Linked DNA regions of Homo sapiens: region 2 is linked to region 1. Evidence: promoter capture Hi-C in 16 types of primary human blood cells and fetal thymus (Javierre and others, 2016). All regions are on one chromosome and are shown on one strand. Each heading gives the region's core, a stretch centred on a gene start or on the middle of the fragment in contact. The rest is flanking DNA. Distances are from core to core; before and after follow the strand shown.

Region 1 (2,698 bases), core at 106-2,605:
ACCTCTCACTGAAGGGTCTTATACAGAAGAAGGTCAAACAATTCTTTTATGGCCTGCTTCAGGGGAGAAAAGTGGGAAGACACAAAGTGACTTTCCTGCTTCAGTTGTTTCCTCTAATGCCAACGAGTCATATTTTGCGGCAGTGTGTCCTGAATCTCATCAACAGCGGAGTAAAAATTGGAGTGTCTAGAACAGGGGTTCTCAACCTTTAGTGCAGAACTTGTTAAAAACACAGAATCCTGGGAACTGCCCCTTCCCGCAAGAGTCTCATTTGTTCTGGAATTAAGCTGTCATCTTCACTTGTTAACAAGTACTCCCATGTTGGTTGCAATGGAGGTCACCACTATACCAGACTTTGAGAAACAGTGGTTTAGAGATAAAGGATTGAAGACCAGGTGGGATTAGAAAAGACCTTGAACCCACACTAAGGACTTTGGCTATTATTTTGAAGACAATGAAAAACCTTTAATGGGCTTTAAGCAGGTGAGTGATATAATCATATTTGAACTGTTAAAAGACCACTTTATAGCAGAATGAAAAATGAACTGGAAGAAGCTAAAATTAAAGCTAAAGAGAACCATTAGGAAGTTATTGCCATAATCTGTAGGCTCCTAAAAGAACAAACCAAGATAAAGGATGGATTTGGAAAGCTTTAGAAAGTAGAAATTGGCAGCAGTTGGTGGTCCATTGACTGTAGTAAGTGAGAGAGGAGGAACCAAGCCAGGTTTTTGTGCTTGGGTGACTGGTTGAATAGTGATTTCAGTCATTTAGATTTGAGTGGTAGGTTTGTGGAGAAAAGTAGTGCGGTTTAGGAGATACTGAATTTGACACGCCTGTGGAGTATCCAGGTGGAAATGTTTTTCTTACTAGATAGTGAACCCCTCATGGGCAAGTTCGTCTATCCATCTGCAGCACCAGAACCTAGTAAAGCGCCAGAATGAATGAACCAACCAACCCATCAATGGATCTGATACTATTGGCCCCATTTTGCAAAGGGCTATGCTGAAGCCCAAGGGACGAAGTGAGGGGGGTCCACAAGTTAGCGACAGCTCTGGGACTCGAACCCAGGACAGCTGACTCCCGCCGTGACCACGGGATCCGCGCGAGGCCCTCCCCTGCCGCGCCGGCCAGGCCCGCACCCCCTACCCTCAAGCCGCGCCGCCGCCTGCACCCACGACCCCTGATGCTTGGGTCCCCGCGGCTCTCGGCCCAGCGCGACTCCAGAGGCTCCGCCCAGCGCCCCGGGCCCCCATCCCGACTCCCACCCCGCTCGCGCGCTCAGTCCCAGCGACCCGCACTGCGCTCCCCGCCTGGGCGCCGCTGCACTCACCACGGCTGGTCCAGCTCGCGGCTCTGCCTTTCCTGTGTGCTCCCTCCAGATTCCCCGGCTCGTTCAAGGGAAACCGCTGCCGCCGCCCTCGGGTTCCGCCGCGGGGCTGCGAGCGCGCGCGGGCCAGTTCGGGCCGGGGGCGGGAACCGGCTCGGATGCTCAGGGACGGTGGGGGTGGCAGGGCCCACCGGCTTGAGGCTGCCTTTCCCGGCGTTCCCTCGTTTATTGGCTCACTCTTCCTTTCATCCATCCATCCTTTGCGCAACAATATTTGATGGGAAGCCTGCCAAGGTAACACTGTTTTAGCACCTGGAACTAAGTCGGAAAATAAATTAACTAAATGAACAAGGCCATTGGAGATGGTGCTCCGTGCCACGAAGAAAATGAAACGAGGTGATGGAAGGCAGTGCGGGAAGGGGGAGAACTGTGTGAAATTAGGCGGCCTGCGCTAGGCCTTCTGAGTAAGGGGCCATTGGTCTGAGACCTGGATGTCAAGAAGGAGCAGCTGAAGCAAAGATCCAGGGGAGAGAGCCTGGAGAGGGAAGGGCCCGTGCAAAAGCTGAAAAGCCTGGGGCACTCTGGCGAGTTGCAGGCCAGTGTGGGTGAGACAGAGAGAGCTAAGGAGACAGGCCAAGCGAGGAAGCTGGAGAGGTGGAGACAGGCCACGGCGGCCAGGAGTTTGGACATGACATTAAACAGGGCGAGAAGACATTGCGGGGGTGCAATCAGGGGCTGGTGGGACTGGTTTCCATTTCACACAGCTCTCTGGCCACAGGTGCTTGATTGGATTCTAGAGAACAAGAGAGCAACGGAGAAGCTAGGCCAATGCCAACCTCCAGACAGTTTACATTCTGTACTCGCCCACCAGATTGGTGTGGGGACAAAGCCAGGTCCTTCTTCTTTCCAGCATTCAGTCTGCCAACTTTTTTTTTTTTTTAGACAGGGTCTCACTCTGTGGCTCAGGCGCTAGTGCAGTGGTGCAATCTCAGCTCACTGCAGCCTCTGCTTCCCGGGTTCAAGCAATTCTTGTGCCTCAGCCTCCCGAGTAACTGGGATTACAGGTGTGTGCCACCAGGCCCAGCTAAATTTTTTTGTATTTTTAGTAAAGACGGGGGTTTTGTCACGTTGGCCAGGCTGGTCTCGAACTCCTGACCTCAAGCGATCTGCCCGCCTTGGCCTCCCAAAGTGCTACGATTATAGGCATGAGCCATCGCACCCGGCCAGTCAACCAACATTTGAGTGTGCACTAGGCCCTGCATCAGGCACTGGGGGTATGCTCAGGTACAAGGCCCTTCATGGTTCCTGCCCCATGGAGCTTGCTATCTAGTCTGCACATTTCCTACGTGTAGACATGCATCCTACCTATGT
Region 2 (2,698 bases), core at 124-2,623, 470 kb after region 1:
ATCCTTATCCTATAAGCTTTTTTCTGTTTATAAAATTTTTTATTTTTCAACTTTTGAAACGTTTTTGTTAAAAACTAAGACACACACACACACACATTAGCCTAAGCCTGCAGAGGGTTGGGATCATCAATCTCGCTGTCTTCCACCTCCACATTTTAGCCCACTGGAAAGTCTTCAGGGGCAATGGTGCACATGGAGCTGTCACCTCCTGATAACAATGCCTTCTTCTGGAATACCTCCTGAAGGACCCACCTGGGGCTGTTTTACAGTTAACTTTTTTTTATAAGCAGAAGGAGTACACTCTAAAACAATGATTAGAAGTATAGCATAGTAAATATATAAACCAGTAACAGTCATTTTATTATCAAGTATTACATACTGTACATAATTGTTTGTGCTAGACTTCTATACCGCCGGCAGTGCAGTAGCTTTGTTTACACCAGCCTCAACCCAAACACAGGAGTAATGGGTTGCTGCACTGTGACATCTATGATGTCACTAGGCCATAAGAATTTTTCAGCTCCATGATAACCTTATGAGACCACTGCAGTCTGTCTTTAACCAAAATGTTACAGGGCACATGACTGCATTTCATTTTTGCCTTACTTGTCATTCTTCCCCTTTGCGCTTCGTAAGGGCAGACCTTCATGGTGCCCATTACCCTGTGCTATATTACACGATTCATATATTAGATATTATTTTTACTCTATGACTATTTTTCTTCAGATGGAGTCTCGCTCTATCACCCAGGCTGGGGTGCAGTAGCACGATCTCGGCTCACTGCAACCTCCGCTTCCTGGATTCAAGCCATTCTCCTGCCTCAGCCTCTCGAGTAGCTGGGATTACAGGCATGCGCCACCACACCCAGCTAATTTTTGTATTTTCTGTAGACACAGGGTTTCAACCATGTTGGCCAGGATGGTCTCAATCTCTTGACCTCGTAATCCGCCCTCCTCAGCCTCCCAAAATTCTGGGATTACAGGCGTGCGCCACCGTGCCCAGCCGTGGAGTATTTATTTATTGTCCGTCTCTCCCCTCTGGAATGTAAGCTTCTCCATTTGGTCCAACACTGTACCTGATGCACAGCCCAAAGGCCCTCAATAAATACTTGTTGAATGAATGAATGTGTCCTTCATGTCTATAATTTCAGCATCTACCACAGCAAGCGAAGTAAATAAGCAAAAGTTATATGACAAAATGTGTATGCACTTTGGTCAGTGAGCTTCAAAACAGGGTGTGTGAGCCACTCTCATTACTTCAATTTAGAATTGAGATTCCAAGAGTATTATTTCCTTTTTATTCTCAATTTGTGGAATCAATATCCCAGTTTCTTCTCCACCTCACTCCTGCCCCGATAGATTCTAAGATGATGGTAGAGTGTGGTGGGTGAGTTCCCACATCCAGAGCCAGAATTCAAATTCTGACACCTTTGTTTCCTAACTAACTGTGAGAATTCACAAGTTATCTGACCTTTCTGTGCCTCAGTTCCCTCAAATTTAGGATGAGAATTTAAAATAATACTTATACTTCCTAGGGTTATTATGAACAATAAATTAGCTAATACATATAAAACTTTTAGGAGAGACCTGTCATCAAGATTGGCTATAATTATCATTAATCTCTTTCCCACCCCACCAACTTTGCAAGTGATGTTTAATGGAGATGGAGAGGGCAGGAGGGAAGAAGGGAGAAGCTTGTGAGAATTCTGTGAGTTGATGATAGAAAATTAAAATATAAATTTACTATAATTGACCATGAACTAAAGCCTTCTGCCCAATATATTCAAGTAGCAGTTTCTTAAAGTGTAGAATGATATACTTAAATTTAAACCCAAGTTATCATGGAATTATACTCATCTGAAACAAAGTTATGTGCTTGGTTCTTTTAGAGGCTATAGGCTCTGCGTGGCGCTGTCCAACAGAATTTTCTCCGATGGTGGGAATGTTCACTGTAATCTGCACTGTCCCATACAATAGCCAGTAGGCACATACGGCTACTGAACATTTGAAATGTGGCCAATACAACTACGGAAATAATTTTTGTTTGTTTGTTTTTTGAGACAGAGTCTCGCTCTGTCACCCAGGCTGGAGTGCAACGGCATGATACCAGATCACCGCAACCTCTACCTCCTAGGTTCAAGCGATTCTCCTGCCTCAGCCTCCTGAGTAGCTGGCATTACAGACACACACCACCATGCCCAGCTAATTTTTGTATTTTTACTAGAGATGGGTTTTCACCATGTTGGCGAGGCTGGTCTCGAACTCCTGAACTCAAGTGATTCACCTGCCTCGGCCTCCCAAAGTGCTGGGATTACAGGCGTGAACCACTGTGCCCAGCCTATTTTATTTAACTTTGGTTATTGTTAACTTGAACAGCCACATGTGGGTTGTGGCTCCCCAACTGGGCAGCATAGCTGTAGGGGATTTGATATACGAGCTCCCTGACTTGGTCCATGGCTGCTCTCCAGCTCCTGGTCTGCTCCTTCTCCTTGCCCCAGAAATCAACACTCACAAGGCCAAACTGCTGTTCCACACCTCTATGGCTGTGCATATGCTGGCCCATTGCCTGAAATATCCTTCCTCCACATCCACCTCCAAACCTTATCAAACATCTTGTTCAGATTTCATTTCCTCAGGACAACTTTCCCTAACCTCCTCCTGCCTACCTCCCGCTACTGCCGACACAATCCACCATCACT

The links. Contacts are between HindIII fragments. The CHiCAGO score rates a contact against its expected background, and 5 or more counts as called.
Region 2: a contact is called between a fragment that was not itself captured here and the fragment with the promoter of AGK in region 1, in 1 of 17 cell types (endothelial precursors). The highest score is 6.5, in endothelial precursors.

What each region holds. Positions count from the first base shown.
Region 1 is chr7:141,550,067-141,552,764 of GRCh38, reverse strand. AGK (acylglycerol kinase) reads right to left here and starts at 1,355. Exons shown (of 16, transcript NM_018238.4): 1 at 1,331-1,355. AGK-DT (AGK divergent transcript) reads left to right here and starts at 1,421. Exons shown (of 6, transcript NR_183408.1): 1 at 1,421-1,621. RefSeq lists silencers at 1,111-1,290, 1,471-1,560. The HindIII fragment of the contact is 2,342 bases long and covers 653-2,698 here.
Region 2 is chr7:141,078,645-141,081,342 of GRCh38, reverse strand. All of the region lies in intron 1 of TMEM178B (transmembrane protein 178B), which reads right to left. Among named protein-coding and RNA genes, the nearest start is that of TMEM178B, 5.9 kb to the right of the region's middle. The HindIII fragment of the contact is 644 bases long and covers 1,052-1,695 here.